Regions from separate parts of the Homo sapiens genome. Here regions 1, 2 and 4 are each linked to region 3. The links are contacts of gene promoters, found by promoter capture Hi-C in blood cells and fetal thymus (Javierre and others, 2016). All regions are on one chromosome and are shown on one strand. The core of a region is centred on a gene start or on the middle of the fragment in contact, and the rest is flanking DNA. Distances in the headings are between cores, read along the strand shown.

The links. Contacts are between HindIII fragments. The CHiCAGO score rates a contact against its expected background, and 5 or more counts as called.
Region 1: a fragment that was not itself captured here is called in contact with the fragment with the promoter of FAM81A in region 3 in 1 of 17 cell types (naive B cells); the score reaches 5.6 in naive B cells.
Region 2: a contact is called between a fragment that was not itself captured here and the fragment with the promoter of FAM81A in region 3, in 1 of 17 cell types (naive B cells). The highest score is 5.1, in naive B cells.
Region 4: a contact is called between a fragment that was not itself captured here and the fragment with the promoter of FAM81A in region 3, in 1 of 17 cell types (total B cells). The highest score is 5.4, in total B cells.

Annotation. Positions count from the first base shown.
Region 1 is chr15:59,261,951-59,266,275 of GRCh38, forward strand. All of the region lies in intron 2 of MYO1E (myosin IE), which reads right to left. Among named protein-coding and RNA genes, the nearest start is that of LDHAL6B, 57 kb to the left of the region's middle. The HindIII fragment of the contact is 4,233 bases long and covers 342-4,325 here.
Region 2 is chr15:59,281,185-59,285,921 of GRCh38, forward strand. All of the region lies in intron 1 of MYO1E (myosin IE), which reads right to left. Among named protein-coding and RNA genes, the nearest start is that of LDHAL6B, 77 kb to the left of the region's middle. RefSeq lists a silencer at 766-1,060. The HindIII fragment of the contact is 5,735 bases long and covers 253-4,737 here.
Region 3 is chr15:59,435,788-59,439,926 of GRCh38, forward strand. It overlaps FAM81A (family with sequence similarity 81 member A), which reads left to right and starts at 2,399. Exons shown (of 9, transcript NM_152450.3): 1 at 2,399-2,495. RefSeq lists a silencer at 2,097-2,626. The HindIII fragment of the contact is 11,804 bases long and covers 1-2,998 here.
Region 4 is chr15:59,307,123-59,311,706 of GRCh38, forward strand. All of the region lies in intron 1 of MYO1E (myosin IE), which reads right to left. Among named protein-coding and RNA genes, the nearest start is that of MYO1E, 63 kb to the right of the region's middle. The HindIII fragment of the contact is 527 bases long and covers 2,182-2,708 here.

The sequences.
Region 1 (4,325 bases), core at 1,208-3,707, 170 kb before region 3:
CAGCACTTTGGGAGGCTGAGGTGGGGAGATCATTTGAGGTCAGGAGCTCGAGACTAGCCTGGCCGACATGGTGAAACTCCGTCTCTACTAAAAATACAAAAATTAGCCAGCTGTGGTGGCACACGCCTGTAGTCCCTGCTACTGTACTCAGGAGGCTGAGGCAGGAGAATCGTCTGAACCCATGAGGCGGAGGTTGCAGTGAGCCAAGATCATGTCACTGCACTCCAGCCTGGGCAACATAGTGAGACTCTTGTCTCCAAAAAAAAAATAAAAAAAAATATTCATCTACTTATTTAACAAATACAGGGATACAAGATGAACTAACAGCTCTGTTCTCCAGAAGCTTAGAGGAATTAAAAGGCATCAATGAGGTAATTTTCTGGCCAGGTGCAGTGGCTCATGCCTGTCTGTACTCCCAGCATGTTAGAAGGCCAAGGGGGTGGATCGCTTTAGGCCAGGAGTTTGAGGCCGGCCTGGGCAACATAGCAAAACTCCATCTCTAAAAAAACAAAAACAAAAACAAAAACATTAGCCAGGCATGGGGGCGTGTGCCTGCAGTCCCAGCTACTGGGCAGGCTGAGGCGGGAGGATTGCTTGAGGCCAGGAGTCGGAGGTTGCAGTGAGCCCAGATCAGAGGTTACAGCAAGCCAAGATCACGTCACCGCATTCCAGCCTGGGTGACAGAAAGAGACCTTGTCTCAAAATAACAGTAATAATCATAAATAAGGTAGTTTTCAGAGAAGAAAATTATAAACCCACCTACATCAGGTTTAGGGAAAGAAGGTATTATTTCTGCTTGGGGAATACAAGATGGCCTCTCAGAGAGGCTATGCTTATGCTGGGCCTTAAAAATTTTACACATTTTAATATATGAAAATAAATGAAGACTTATGATCACATGAAAAATATTTCCAATTATTCATTCAACAATCAACTAATTTGAATTGGGTGCTTACTTAACATGCCAGGCACTGTTTTAGATGCTCGGGATATGACAGTGAACAAAATAAATAGAATATATATAACTTCTTGACTTCATGGAGAGAATAAATATAACTTCTTGACTTCATGGAGAAAAAAAATCTAAACAACACACAGAGACATTCAAAACTGTTTCTTTCAATGATCAATTTCAAGGTGTTTAGAAATTTTACAAATAAATTGTTAAACAGAAAGTTATTTACAAATATATAGTTTTAGATAAAGACTTAAAACTATGAGATTTCCTCCCACAGGAGAACATTTTTATATTTACATATTAAGACCTGTGTACCATGAAAACCAGCCCAGGTGTTCAGTCAGATTGGCTGGTGCTGATGGAGATAAAATAGGACCTACCTGATAGTCTCATTTTACTTAAATAAAATAATTATAGAACACTCAGCACTGTGAGCACAGCACATAGTAATGGCTTTTCCTTAATTAATATCCTCTAAGGCACATGTTTTATCATGTAATATCTCAAATCATGATGCATGTTTCAAGTGTGGCTTAACATGCCAGGTGCTGTTTTAGAGGCAATGGTTTGTTAGTTTCTATTAGACACAGTGTTATTACTACTTAATACAAATCAATGTGAGATGGATCATATAATCATATAATTTTTTTAAAGATAATATTTTAGATTATTGTGCATATACAAAGGTAAGCATGCAGAATGACATGATTATGCTTTTACTTCTCTTTGTCACTGACCAGAAAGATCTTCATACTTGAAGGGGTGGAACATGAATTGCTATTAGGGAAGATGAAGTGGTTTTAAGACCACTTCAGCAGTGCCCAGTTCTGGTCTAAGGGCAGGCCATAGTGCTAAGAGAAAATGCTGATGAGACAGTGATTGAGCCATAACTGAAAATTACTGAAGAGTTATGGAAGAAGGGCCATGGAAAATGTATTCCCAATTGCCAAAGTCAGATGAGGCCAATGATAGATTAGTGAAAATTTAGGACACATACATGTACTGTTAAAATTATCAAGCAGGTAAGACGTCCATGATGCCGTAGCCAAGACTCAATAAGGCGTCATAAAATTAATTAAACACATATACATTTACATCTTAGCACCAAATAACAACCTATTTGACTTCAGGTTGACTGTCCCTTATCCAAAATGCTTTTTGCAGATTGTGCTTTTTTTCATATTTTGGAACGTTTGCATTACACTCACCACCAGTTCAGCATCCCTAACCCAAAAATCCAAAATCGAAATGCTCTGAAGAGCATCGTGTCGATTATCAAAACATTTCAAACTTTGCAGCATTTCAAATTTGGAATTTTCAGATTAAGGATACTCAGCCTGTACAGGGAAACTGAGGCACGGAGAAATTTTTAAAAGTTGCTTAAGGTCACACACTATAAGTGGCAGAGCTAGGATTCAAACTCAGGCAGTCTGGATCCCACGCCCATACTCTTAATCAAAAGCTAGAATGTCTAAGATAAGCAGGTACTGTTGCGTTAATATTATTACTGGTAGCCAGATTTAGCAAATAAAAACACAGAAAACTAGTTAAATTGGAAAGTCATTCAAACAAGAATTTTTTTAAGTATGTTCCAAATAAGTATGTTCCCCAGTAATATTTGGTACATACTTATAGTAAAAAGTAACTTGTTGTTTATCTGAAATTCAAACTTAACCAGCAGTCCTGAATTTTATCTGGCAACCCTAAATTGGCAGCCTCTTCTAACTTAGATTCTCTGATGCTTTGCATACTCGAAAACCTAATTCCCTTAGGTGGATTTTTAAAGTATCTTTTCTAATTGGTAAGGACCTAATCAAAATTGAATGAACGAGCAGGTTGTGGTGGCTCAAGCCTGTAGTCCTAGCACTTCGGGAGAATAAGGTGGGTGGACCCCTTGAGCTCAGGAGTTCGAAACCAGCCTGGGCAATCTAGTGAGACCTCATCTCTACAAAAAATTTTTTTAAAATTAGCCAAGCATGTTGGTTGGTACGTGCCTGTAGTTCCTGCTGAGGTGGGAGGATTGCTTAAGCCAAGCAGGTCGAGGTTGCAGTGAGCCATGATCATGCCACTGCACTCCAGCCTGGGCAACAGAGCCAGACCCTGGCTCCCAAAAAAGAAAACAAACAAACAATTAATGAATGAAGTAATAATGATTCTTATGGTAAACCCAATTTTAAAGAAACACAGCACTGCTAGAACCATCTTCACTTCAGAAGAGGAAGATGTTTATTTCATGTCTACATCTATCCCCAGGGAAAAACAAACAGGCAAATAAGCTCCTTCCATGGAGGAGGGTACTTGTTCCCTTAGTTGTAAAGGGAATGTGGTTACTGCCGCCTTGTCCTAGACAAATTGATCACTGCACACAAAGAATAAAGGGCTGCCCTCAGGACAACAGACAAAGGTACCACCTCCCCACCAATCCCTTGGTTACTCAATAAATATGAATTCAGTTGCATATGAGCTCCTAAAGTGACCAACATTTTAAAAACTGTTAATTTGCTATATAAAGAGATATCTCATTAAGTCTTGATTTTTCACCAAGTAGATTACATAAATTCTGATTAGGGCCTGGTTAAGGAGATATTCAGGAAAAAAAACAAAAACAAAAATTTATTTTGGACTATTCTAGGCCAATCGTGAATCAATGACTCAGGTCAGAATGAAATGAAGAGGGAAATTTGTACCTGCTCCCTAAATTTATCAGTAGGGTTCTTGGGGATAATACTATTTGGGAAGACACCTAAAAAATAAAGTTTGGTTTAAAATGGCTGTTTCTGGTTGGGTGCTATAATCACAACACTGTGGGAGGACAAGTGGGATGATTGCTTGAGTCCAGGAGTTCGAGACCAGCCTGGGCAATATACTGAGACCCCATCTCCTTAAAAAAAAAAAAAAAAAAAAAAAAAATTGCCAGGCATGGTGGTCTTCACATGTAGTCCCAGCTACTTGGGAGGCTGAGGTGGGAGGATCACTTAGGCCTGGGAAGGCAAGGCTGCAGCGAACTGTGATCACACCATTGCTCTCCAGCTTAGGTGACAGAGCAAATAAAATAAAATAAAAAATTTAAAAAAAAGTCTCAAAAAATAAAATGGCTGTTTCTACAGAAAAACTAAGGAGAATTTAATTGATTTAAAGAAAATAAACATATCGTAGTTATTTCCGGTGAGAGTTTGGAATAATTGTTTATCTAAACAATTCTCACCTTTTCCACCTTGCTATGTCTGCAGAGACCTTAGCTATTTTCCGGACACCTGTGCTCTCCTGCTGCTTTGGGAACTCCAGGTAATTCCAACAATGCTCACTCCCACTCCTGTTGCATAATTCAGGTGTGCCTCTGGGAAAAGCCGTTCGGATCATTGTCTTT
Region 2 (4,737 bases), core at 1,870-4,369, 150 kb before region 3:
GTGTCCCACCCTCCATGCGATATGTCTGCCCTGGGATTACTATGATGTCTGACTTTCCCCATGACTTTTCCTTTTCTTTTCTTTTTCTTTTCTTTCTTTTTTTTTTTCTGAGAAAGAGTCTTGCTCTGTCACCTAGGCTGGAGTGTAATGGCATGATCTTGGCTCACTGCAACCTCCACCTCCCTGGTTCAAGTGATTCTCCTGCCTCAGTCTCCCGAATAGCTGGGACTACAGGCGTGCACTACCACACCAAGCTTATTTTTGTATTTTTAGTAGAGACGGGTTTTCACTATGTTGCCCAGGCTGGTCTCAAACTCCTGACCTCAGGTGATCTGCCCGCCTCGGCCTCCGAGAGGGTTAGGATTACAGGCGTGAGCCACCGCGCCCGGCCCCCATGACTTTTCTGACATACACCACACCATATTGCAATCTTTCCTAAACCTCAGTCATTTTCAACTATTTTAACAAGTTTCCTATAACCACATTCCACAGCACTTGCTTCAAATTTTTCTATAAATGGTCCTTAATAATTTTGATTAAACCTACACAACAATCTTCATAAAATCCACCAGTTTGGTGTGCTAGTTTTGTTTCTTCAACATGTAAAAATAGCTACGAAGACAAATGTTGTAAGCCGGTCGCGGTGGCTCATGCCTGTAATCCCAGGGCTTTGGGAAGCAAAGGTGAAAGGATTGCTTGAGCCCAGGAGTTCAAGGCTGCAGTAAGCTATGATTGCACCACTGCACTCCAGCCTGGTGACAAAGCAAGACCCTGTTCAAAAAAAAAAAAGGAAAAGAAAAAGAGAAATATTGTAAAATACACCAGTGTGGGGTTGTACATACCGATGTTAAGGTCTACCCTGGTGCCATGTTCCACACCTGGGGACACACTGGCATTCCCTATTGGGCCTTTTCTTGTCAATTTCAAGTCCAGCCATAGGGAATTTAAATAACTTCTGTTCGATTTCCCAAATGCATTTTACTCTGCTGTGGAAAATCTCACATGGTAAGACCAGATTTCCCTTTTAGTTTGCAGGCGAGAGTCTAGGTTGTGTTCTCACAAGTAGAACCTACCCTATGTTTGTGTTCTGAATTCCCTGCACTTTCCATCAGGGCTCCCAAGCCCCCTGCTCTGTCTAGACCTCCCACCTCAGAAAACCCTCCCAGCCACAGGTGGGACATGTCAGTAGTCCCCAGGGTCAGGGCTTGTCTTGAGGCTGAGCAGGAAATTCTCTTGGGTAACTGCTTTTTATTCTTTCTCTCTCAGGAAGTGCTTCCCGTAAGCATTACCAAAACGGTTCTGTCCTCTTTCCCTCACAAACTCCAGGAACCCTAGAATGGTGGCTCCTATCTCTGATCCTCACCAAAAGTCCCTTTGAAGACCAGGTGTGGTGGCTCATGCCTATAATCCCAGCACTTTGGGAGGCCAAGGAGGGAGGACTGCTTGAGCCCGGGAGTTAGAGGCCAGCCTGGACAACATAGCGAGACCCCATCTCTACACAAAATCAAAACATTAGCTGGACGTGGTGGCACATGCCTGTGGTCCAGGCTACTCTCGAGAGCCGGAGGCAGGAGGATCGCTTAAGCTCAGGAGGTCAAGGCTGCAGTGAGCCGTGACTGCGTTACTGCACTACAGCCTGCGTAACAGAGCAAGACAAAGAAAGAGAAGGGAAGGAAAGGGAAGGGGGAGTGGGAGAGGGAGGGGAGGGGGGAGGGGGGGAGGGGGGAGGGGGAGGGGGAGGGGGAGGGGGAGGGGGAGGGGGAGGGGGGAGAGGGGAGGGGAAAGGGGAAAGGGGAAAGGGGAAAGGGGAAAGGGAAAGGCCTGGGCAGCCCAGGCTCTCTGAGATGCTCAGGGCATCCATCCTCCAGGGCACAAAAAGGGCTCTGGTTGCCCTCATCCCAGGGAGACGGGCGGTCAGAGGACAGTGGCTGCCTTCACAAGCCTGGTCTGGAACCCCTCAAGGTAGCTGCGCATGCATTTGAAGTGCAAATCTTAGCGAGGCTTCCCTGACCTGTCCTTGTCCATCTCTAACCCCTGCTTTCTCCGTTTTGAGGTTCCCACCACACCATTTTCTGTGCATACCATGCTGTGCTTTGTTTCTGTTTTTCCACAGTGTGTGTGTGAGGTGGGATCTTCAGTACCTACATTCCCACTGTCCCCCAGCTTAGGGTATTCTTCTATGAACTCCTCCCTACCTCAACCCAACTCTATGCCTACTAAACTCTCACCCAGCACAGGTCAGGCATCATCTTGCTAAGAAGCCTGCTCTAACAGCATTACCTGAGTGCCTGGCTCCCTGATTAAACTGACCCCTAGGACCAAGTCTTATTCACCATTCTGCCCCAAGACCTAGTAGAGTGCCATGATGCATGGCATGGGCAGCCCCCAAGTATTTGTTGAATGAATGAAATACATTATTATTATTCTCACGTAACAGCTAATTCTTATTACATACCAAGCACTGCTCTAAGCATTTTACATATAACTTATCTAATCCTTACAACTTCACGAGGCAGGAAACTGAGTGAAGCACAGAGAAGTTAAGTAACTTGCTCAGCTCCCACAGCTGGGCTTCAAACCCAGGCAGTCTGCTTCAGATCTTTGCCCTTAAACATTGTACCTACTGCCTCTCATAATAAAGTAACAGCAGTTGGAAACAGCAATAATTCTAAAGTTCATAGTAACTGCTTTATTGCATGTTTACTATGTGTCACGTATCAACTTCTTTCATCTGCCCAATGACACCACCAAGTACTTGTATTATCCTTTTTTTTACAGAAGAAAAAGAAGTACCACGTGGTAAACAGAATACCTGGTACAAAGCCCTGCAAGCTAGGAGCTCACGGAGCAGCCTGGCTCTGCACAGCCTTGCATAATGCAGAGGAAGTTCCGTGCCCTGGAGTCAGCCTTGGGATGATGTCTGCCCCCTGCCATGTCCCCACCAGGGTGGTGCCTGGGGCATGGGAGTGCCCAATCTTTACTAGCTGGGTGAATAAATTCCAGGCTACACTGACTCACCTCACAACATGTTTGCTGTAGGTACACGGCAGCACTGTGGCAGCAGCTATCGTGGGGCAAATAGGAGTCCTGGGCCCAGAGTCTGCTCCAAGGAAGAAATAAGTTTCCAAGGCGTTCCTATTTGCCCCCAACTCAGGAGATCAAAGGGAAGAGATATTGCCCCTAAACACAGTTCTCCTTCTCTTAACCATGTAAGTAGTCCAGTTAAGAGTAACAGATATTTGAGGTTGGATGATTACTATTTTATTTTTATTTTTATTTTTTTGAGACAGGGTCTCACTTTGTCACCCAGGCTGGAGTGCTGTGGCGCAAACATAGCTCACTGAGGCCTCAACCTCCAGGGCTCAATTAATCCTCCCTCCTCAGCTTCCCTAGTAGCCAGGGCTACAGGTGTGCACCACCATACCTGGCTGTGTTTCTCTACCAAAAAAAAAAAAAATTTTTTTTTTTTTTGTAGAGACAGGGTCCCACTGTGTTGCCCAGGCTAGTCTCAAACTCTTGGGCTTGAGCAATCCTCCTGCCTCAGCCTCCCAAAGTGCTGGGATTATAGGTGTAAGCCACCGTGCCCAGCCTGGATGATTAACTTTTTAAACAGAATAACAGGCAATTAATCTTCACCACATCATTAGTGAGGTAAGGACATTTCAAGCTACAGAATAATATGAATCAAATGCTTGAGATTCCTTAATATGACAAATGCTCATTTCACTTCTGCTCTGATTATATTTTAATCAAACAAGTGACAAGAGAGTCACACTGATGTTAGTCCCTGTCTTTTCAGCTGTGGCTCTGCTAGCATGTCACATACATCAAGCACTTAACAGTCCCTTAAGAGAGCTCCCACATCACCACTCTTGTTTTTAAGTGCAAAGCTCTTAGACATTCGGTAATACGATTCAGGAATGTAACTTTTCTTCCTAATCTAGCAAACTGATTAAAATCAACAGACTTGGGTACAAGCTCTACCTCTCACATGCCTCTGTGCCTTGGGCAAGGCCAGTTTCACAGAATTTTATTATTTACAGTTTTAAAGCAATCTTGCAAGGTGTGGCGGTTCATGTCCTTCATCTCAGTGGAGGCTGAGACAGAAAGATCACGTAAGGCCAGGAGTTTGAGAACAGCCTGGGCAACACGCAAGACACTGTCTCTTTTTTTTTTTTTTTTTTTTTTTTTGAGACGGAGTCTGGCTCTGTCGCCCAGGCTGGAGTGCAGTGGCACAATCTTGGCTCACTATAACCTCTGCCCCCCGGCTTCACGCCATTCTCCTGCCTCAGCCCCCCGAGTGGCTGGGCTTACAGAAGGTGCCCACCGCCACGCCCAGCTAATTCTTTTTTGTGTGTGTTTTTAGTAGAGAACTCCTGATCTTGAACTCCTGACGTCAAGTGATCCACCCACCTTGGCCTCCTCAAGTGCTGGGATTACAGGCGTGAGCCACCACGCCCGACTAGACACTGTCTTTAAAAAAAATAATAAAATCAATTAATTAATTAGCTGAAATGAATTTTAAAAATAAAAGTGAAAAAAATTTTTAAGAAAAAGAAAAGAAAAAATTAAGTCAGCCTATTAAATGCATACCAAATTAGTGTGTGCATGTCCATTAAGATTTTTATTAATCATACAGGTCGGCACAAAAGTAATTGCGGTTTTTGCCATTAATGGCACCGGCCTAATAGATTCATAAGTCAAAAATCCTACCAGACTCTGTGTCCTAATTTGTGG
Region 3 (4,139 bases), core at 1,149-3,648:
ATAAATCATGGCTTTTTAATTGAAGTAATGCAAGAAAATCTCCATCTCCTGTAATGAGTTACAATCAAAGTGATTCTGGAAAAAATGGATATTTCGTTGCAATTTAGCCTACAAAAATAGGGAAAGAGTTGGAAAGAAACTAGTGTAGGCTTAATCATTGTGCATTAAATTTTGTCCCCTTGGGATTCAAAACAAATCACTTAAGAAAAAAGATAAATAAGAAGTGGGAAGTCATGGGCCTGATTCAAGACCACTTTGAAAGCCCGGTTCTTACTGAGAAATTCATGTTTTGAAATAATTATTAATACAATTATTTGTCTTATTTGCTAACTGTTATGATTTTTAAAAAGGAAATGAAAGTCAGCCTAAATAGAAGGTGCCTACATATGGCAAGAGCCCCTCACCTTCCAGGTCCTCTCCTTCCCTACCTTTGAGAGTGAGGGAGTCTTGCAGCAAATGAAAAATCAAAGTTCAGTTTTGATGGCCAGAAGTAAGAAGGCACTTCCTCTGTTTTATAGGTGTTCCATTCTGAGGAATATTAGGATCTACTATCACTCTCCTAGGAAGCCAGGAAGGGGTGCCTTGAGGCTCTGGCACCTCAAGTAGTAGAGGGAGTAGGGTCAGTATTGGGGTGGGCGGGGAAAGGGTAGAGTAATAAGAAGAGGAAGAAACAAGACAGAGGGGACGTTATGTGTCCATCTGAGATGCTCTCCATATGCACTGAAAGGCACCCCGATGGAGACAGGCAAGAAATATTTTGAACCTTTTTCTAGACTCTTGGTGATGGACTCTAGGTTTGAATGGGTACTTTCTGCTAACACATGCACACCTTTCCAGATGTTGTGGCCAGTTACAGCCAGAAGGTCACTGGGAAGCAGAGTGACAGTGTCATCACCATGACATAGGATCCAATTCAATATGTATTTACCTAGTACATACCATGCACCAGGCAGTGGGAATCTAACCGAGAAAGGAAAGAATAATCATTGAGCTTTTGCAGCACTAAAGAGATGCTGTTATACCAGATCTACACATCACAAGACTCAAGGCCATTACTCTCCTGGTCACAACGGCAGTGTTAACATGTGTCTGTGATTATTTGATGAATGCTCGTCAGGCTCTAAGCTCTGTGGGATCAGAAAGTGATGTGTCTCTTTTTCATCTTCACCATTGTGTCTCAGGGCTAAGCATAGTTTCTAGCACTTGGCAGCCATCCAATAGATACTGTTGGCTGAATGAATGTTACAGATGCGTTAGCGCTTTGTGGAAGTTATTAGCCCGTTTTACTGGTGAGGAAACAGTCGCAGAATACCCACAAATATTTCAAAGATCACACACAAATAACAGTCCTTAATACTAATAGCCCCTAAATAATAATGCTGCCGGAGAGAGAATTCCAAAACCGCTCAGCCGAATCCACAGTTCGGGCTCTTCTACCATGTCGGGCTCCTTCCCCTGGGTTGGAAGGGCTCAGGCTGGGGCGGGGTGGGGGAGACAGACAGGAGCCCCTGTGCTGGGTAAGTACCAGTATCTGCGAAGGAGGCACGAACCAGATGAGGCAAAGGTCGTGTCCCCCGCAACTCCGCTGAAATCCTGCCCACCGAGAGGAAGCACAATTATGAGTGAATGGGCTTGTGCGTCCTGATGAGAATCCAAAATCGAGAGGAAGGTGGAAAGAGCCAGGACGCGCTGGGAGGGGATGAAGCTGACGGGAGAAGAAAGGGCTGGGAAGAGGAGGGGTGTTCGGGGTTCTTCTTCTCGTCGTGTCTGCTGCGATGAGACACGATCCTGGGTCCCAACTGCAGGTGTCAAGGCGATTCAGTAAATGACACATGGCAGCCCCGGAGGGTTCGTTCACCTGCACAGGTGGGGCGTCACCGTGGCCTAATCAAATAACTTCTCCCCAATTTGAGGTGGGGCGGGGGAGAGAACTATTTTTGTGGGAAAGCGGTTTAGTAAATAAGGTATATTGGGGCTCTAGAGAGAATTGCAGTGCCACCACCATGGCTATGATCTCCGTCAGGCACCATTTCAACACCTCTCCAAATCAACCATCCCTACAACAGGATTTATTTTCCAATGAGCGAAATCCCCGCCCGCCAACTCCAAGGCGCTTGGATGCGAGCTCTGTGGGAAACAGCAGCGACGAGCAGAGGCTATTTTGGGTGTGGGAACGAGGAGGGAGGAGGGGCGGCGCCGCCAGGCTGGGCGCGGGTGCGCGGGGAAAGCCTCCAGCTCGGGCTGCCACGGCAACCGCGTCCAGGCAACGCGCCCGGAAGCGGCTCCGGCGGCGCGCGGCGGCTCGCGCCCCCCGGGAGCCGCGAACCCGGCCGGGCCGCGCGCCGGGCCAGGCGGCAGGCGCGCGCTGATTGGACGGCGCTCCCCGCGGCGCGGGCCCGCAGCCGGGCGCCCTGCTCAGCCAGCGCCAGCGGCCGCCGCACCCAGCCGCGCCGGCGAGGACATGGGCAGCCGCGGCGCGCCCACCCCCCGCGCCGGTGAGTGCCGCGCTCTGGGAACCCCGGCCGGGCGGCCTCTGGGGCTGGGCGGCGGGAGCTCTCTGGGACGGCCGGTGACCTTGGGGCAGCCTCTCAGGAGATAGGCGTGGGGTAGAGAGAGCTGCGCGTGGCCCATGTGACATGCCGCGGGCGAGAGGGTTAACTGCATGTGACGCGAAGGGCTGAAGTTGGGCACAGAGCGCAACTGGCGTTGCATTTTCGCGGGGGCTGCATGCTAGCGAACCAACCGACGCCCGGAGGGACTGTTTGGGGGAGCTGGGGTGGTGCACGGATTGCCAGGGGTAAAGGCGAGTCAGCCGACCCACTACTCAGAGTGAGTGACCTTGGGTAGGTTAACCATCTGCTCTTCCGCCCCTTCGCTTTTTCTCATCTTTCAAACGAGAGGCTAGGGGGTCTTTGCAGTTCCAGAATGCTGTTGTGCCATCCTACTGCGAGCTGAGAAAGAGCCCTAAAGTACGGTTCTGCAGGTACCGGAGATGCAAAGCTTAACCATGTTTATTCTAGGAGGGGTTTCCATTAATTGGCTCCTAAAGTGGTAAGAAATGTTATCGTTGTCTGGAAGATTATGGAGCAAGCAGTCGGTGGTCCGGAGAATGGCTTCTTAAGATGCACAGGTTAAAACCTCTTTGGTGCCCTAAAGACATGAACAAAATCAGGATTAATGCTCCTAAGTTCTTCTTTCCTGTAGTTAATCTAATAGGAAACTTTGTATTTGAACAGGTAAAATCAAAACCCAATCGTGGCAGGCAGCAGCAAATTAAGTGAGTCATTTCTTCAATGTGCACGAGGTTTATGTGTGTGTGTGCGCGCGTGTGTGTGTGTGCGTGTGTGCGCGTGCGCTCTCGTCCTCAGCTCAAAGTCTGCGTACGGCAGTGTTGGAAATTATTTCATAGGAGTAACCAGAAATAATGCTAGAATGATTCGAATCCACAAAAGTGCAGCTCTCTCAGAAGCAAGGGCAAACATTTGCAACTTGCTTTTAAAATAAGAGGTTTGTAGAGTAAATATATTCTTTATTGAGAACCATCCCCAGATTTGCACATTGTATCTGCCTTCTGGGCCCTGTCACTGAATGCGCGTGTGTGTATGTGTGTGTGTGTGTGTTGGGGGGGGCGGGTTCCTTGGCACTTATAATATTTTTAGCGTTGACTGGTACTAAAAAGGACACTTAGGCCCCCTTCCATATCCACTGTCTATAAACTTCCCTCTTCCACGGAGGGGAATGGAGGACGTACCCTCTCACAGGTACCCCTGGTTGCCCCTTCTGACTTTCTACTTAAAGCTACCCTTGATTTTCATTCGAATCTGATTTCATCTGTATAAGAACGTGGGTTGGGAAGACACAGTTTCCAATGCTAATGAATAAGCTTCTGCAAGCTTGTTTACCTGAGGGCTTAATAACCTTTAATGTGTTACATGTTAGAAATCTGATAGCATACGGATAGAAAAATACTTAGTGTCCAGGAATTCAACCATGAAGCCCTACCAACCATTTAATGAGCCACACTACATGGTGCTTGGAAACGTTATTAGCGCATTATTCAGCCTCCTCTCTCTGCAGGCCACTAGGCTGTGTCACTCCGACCTGGCTTTAAATGTCTTGTTTCTTGTATCCTGCAGCCA
Region 4 (4,584 bases), core at 1,195-3,694, 130 kb before region 3:
ATCATCATTTCCAGCTTTTATTTAACTGAAAATGTAGGCTATTGCTTCCCAGCTTCAGAGTGAAACTAAGTCCAAGGGGACATCACCCAGGGAGCTGCTGGTATGGCCTGGGCATTGGAACTCTCCGGGCATCTCCAGTGGCACATGAGCATAGGCTACCTCACCAGATCCCTCAGCAGCTGCACCAACACCCTGGGCCCGGGGAGGATGAGGTTCCGCACAGTCGTTTTCTATTGGAAGGAGAACACGCAGGAGCTTTGGCTTACAGACAACAGCAGCTGGGCAGCTGGGGCTGGCCACCATGGGAAAGGGACAGAGCAAGAACCAGATTCTGTCAACTTTAATCTACGTTAATCCTGCTTATAATTCTGACATTTCCTTCCCACCTTCACTCTCAGGGTTTGCTTCATAGACTCTAAGACCCCTAATCTAGCTATTTGGGTGAGTATATTATTTGTAAATGATTCCAATGAGTTTAGTTTTTGTTTTTGGTTTTGGTTTTTTTAAGACGGAGTTTCGCTCTTGTTGCCCAGGCTGGAGTGCAACGGCGCGATCTTGGCTCACGGCAACCTCTGCCTCCAGGGTTCAAGCCATTCTCCTGTCTCAGCCTCCCGAGTAGCTGGGATTATAGGCATGCACCACTATGGCCGGCTAACTTTCTATCTTTAGTAGAGGTGGGGTTTCTCCATGTTGGTCAGGCTGGTCTTGAACTCCTGACCTCAGGCGATCCACCCGCCTCAGCCTCCCAAAGTGCTGGGATTACAGGCGTGAGCCACCACGCCTGGCTCCAGTGAGTTTAAAACAAATCCTTGGGGCTGGCGCGGTGGCTCACGCCTGTAATCCCAGCACTTGGGGAGGCCAAGGTGAGCGGATCACTTGAGGTCAGGAGTTCAAGGCCATCCTGGCCAACATGGTGAAACCCTGTCTCTATTAAAAAACAAAAAACAAAAATTAGCCGGATGTGGTGGCATGCATCTGTAGTCCCAGCTACTCGGGAGGCTGAGGCATGAGAATCACCTGAACCCAGGAGGCAGAGGTTGCAGTAAGCCAAGATCATGCCACTGCACTCCAGCTTGGGTGACAGAGTGAGACTCTGTCTCAAAAAAAAAAAAAAAAAAAAAAAAAAAAATAGGCTGGGCATGGTGGCTCACACCTGTAATCCCAGCACTTTGGGAGGCTGAGGGGGGCAGATCGCCTGAGGTCAGGAGTTCGAGACCAGCATGGCCAACATGGTGAAACCTCATCTCTACTAAAAATACAAACATTAGGCTGGGCACAATGGCTCACGCCTGTAATCCCAGCACTTTGGGAGGCCAAGGCGGGTGGATCACCTGAGGTCAGCAGTTCGAAACCAGCCTGGCCAACATAGCAAAACCCCGTCTCTACTAAAAATACAAAAATTAGCCAGGTGTGGGGGCCCACACCTGTAATCCCAGCTACATGGGAGGCTGAGGCAGGAGAATCACTTGAACCCGGGAGGTGGAGGTTGCAGTGAGCCGACATTGCACCACTGCTCTCCAGCCTGGGTGACAGAGCAAGACACCATCTCAAAAAAAAAAAAAAAAAATTAGCTGGGCATGGTGGCAGGTGCCCCTAATCCCAGCTACTCGGGAGGCTGAGGCAGAAGAATTGCTTGAACCCAGGAGACGGAGGTCACAGTGAGCGGTAATTGTGCCATTGCACTTCAACCTGGTGACAAGAGCAAAACTCCATCTCAAAAAAAAAAAATCCTCTAGAGGGATTTGTTTATTATTTATTTATTATATATTTATATTTTAGCCCCAGAGAGGCAGAATTGCAGAAAGAGCTCTGGGCCTCAGAGAGTCAGAAAACCTGTTCGATTAGCTGGGCTTGGTGACGCATGCCTGTGGTCCCAGCTACTTGGGAGGCTGAGGTGGGAGGATAGCTTGAGCCTGGGAGTTCGGAAGCTACAGTAAGCCATGATCACACCACTGCACTCCAGCCTGGGTGACAGAGTGAGACCTTGTCTCTAAAAATAAATTAAAAGAAAAAAACCTGGAAGAAAGAAGAGAAGGAAGATTGATGGGGAGGGAGAAAAGGGATGATTGTGTACTATGCACTAGCTCTGAGCCCGGCACCTTACATACATTAACTGATGTCTATCCTCAGAGTAATGCTACAAGAATGGTGTTGCTGCTCCATTTACTGAAAACAAAATGAAGCTTCCATAAGTTAAGTGTCTCCTCACAATACTACAACCCCCAAAAAAGCAACTAAAACAACAACAACAACAAACAGGACTTGAATTTTCTGACTTGTCAAAGGATTTTCCATTGTTCCAAGATTGCTGTGTAAACTAAACAGATGCAAAAACTGTTTACTAAATGCTACTGAAGAATAACAGGACATCATGATGGTGATGCCATGACCTGCAACACAGGTTCACTAAGAATTTTTGAGTCTCCCTGGAGGTCAGCCAGCTGTGTATTCTCAGGCTGGACGACGGCCCTAGAACCGCCTTGTGAGAAGTCCACTCAGTATGGCAGTAGCTGCCATTCCCTGAGACATCTACACTCCGTTTAGAGAAATCTTCCCAGAAAGGCCAAATGTGTGTCTTTCTGCCTTTAAAATATCTTTATTCACATGCATTTCTAAGGTTGCCCTTCGGTTTCTTCCATATCATTTTCACCTTTTTACCCTTCTTGGCAGCACATAAAGCATAACTTAAGTGGGTAGAGACAAAGAGAAGCTTGTCTGGATAGGCCTTCGTATATACTGATAGGGATTATATACCCCACCCACCACATTTGTAAATAGGCTAAGAATCACCCTTGATCCTTCCTCCCACTACATCAGATCTTAGTGGTTCTCCTTCAGACCCACCCCTCGACTACTCCCCTTTCCTCTCTGTTCTCACAGCCACTGCCTTACTTAAGGTCCCCTTATTTCTCACCTGCAATAGCGCCCTAACTCGTCTTTTTGGTCAGTTCTCCACAGCCTGCTGCTTAGGTCCTGTGCACCTTCCCTTCATAATTACTTAAGTGAGCTGCTAGTATTACTTACTCTAGGTCCAGGCAGCTTCCTAGCGCTCACGAAGAACACATGACACTGCCAAGTTGACCAGCTTGAGTGTGGCAGCAAACCCACTGCCCCCTTGAGTCCTAAAATGATAAGGTGCAGCGAAGTGTGTATCTGTTGTGGGTTGCACTGTGTTGCCTCCAAAAAAGACATGTTGAAGTCCTAGGCCACAGTATCTGTGAATGTGACCTAATTTGGAAATAGTCTTTGCGGATAGAATCAAGTTAAGACGAAGTCAGCAAAGCGGGCCTTAATCCAAGATAACTCACGTCCTTAAAGAAGAGAAGAGACACAGAAACAGACACAGGGAGAAGGTCATGTGATGATGGAGGCAGAGATTGGGGCGACACAGCCACAAGCCAAGGAATGCCAAGGCTGGCCAGCAACACTAGAAGCTGAGCAAAAGCATGGAACAGAATCTCCCCAACCTTCGGAAGGAGCGTGGTCCTGATGCCCATGCTGATTTTGAATCCTAGCCTTCGGAATTGTGAGAACACATTTCTGTTGTTTTAAGCCACCAGTTCATAGCAATTTGTTAAGGCAGCCCTAGGAAATGAATTATAGTATCTAAAGAAAGGTGGGAAGGGCTGACCACCAAGATGAAACAAGCCTTCGTGCCCAAATTCCTCTGCTTCACCAAGTTGCCTTTGGTAGTTTCGTATATATACTCTGTAAGAAGCTAGTGGTCTCAGAATTATGGTTCTAAAGAACAAATGTGATTTTGTTAAAAACCTCCACTTTCTGTAGGACAAATTCCAAGCAAGCCCTTAGTGTGCCATGTAAGCCCTCTCAAGTCTGGCCCCAACCTGCCTGTCCCACGTACTCATGTACTCATGATCATCTTCCCCCTCCACTTCCCTGCCTGCATGCTGACCTCCAGCCATCACTCTGCCCTGGAGTCCAGCAACTGATTCTCATGCACAGTAGACAACAGGCATGGTCAAGGCAACCATCCAGGGTGGCCCTGGATGTCCATCATAACGAGCAAAACCACAAGGTCCTTACTCTAGAACAGCAGTCTCCAACGTTTTTGACACCAGGGACAGGTTTTGTGGAAGACAATTTTTCCATGACAGTCATAGGAGTGGAACGGTTTCAGGTTGAAACCGTTCCACCTCACATCATCAGGCATTAGATTCTAATAAGGAACACGTCACCTAGGTCCCTCACATGCGCAGTTCATAACAGGGTTCGGGCTCCTATGAGAATCTAATGCCGCCACTGATCTGACAGGAGGCAGAGCTCAGACAGTAATGCTCACTCATGCATGCTTACTTCCTGCTGTGCATCCCAGTTCCTAACAGGCCACGGACCGTATTGCCCAGGGGTTGGGGACCCCTGCTCTAGAAGACCAGAAGTTTGGGCAGTTCTGAAGCAGGCAGAAGGACCTGCAGCTTTGGGCACAGAAATCACATGAGTTTACCATATAAGAACCATAAAGCTTAATTTGGTGGGTATCTCTGGCACTATATATCAGGCAAGCCCAGTTGGTGTTATAGGCAACGTTATGATTTAAACGTGTCTTCCAAAGTTCATGTGCTGAAA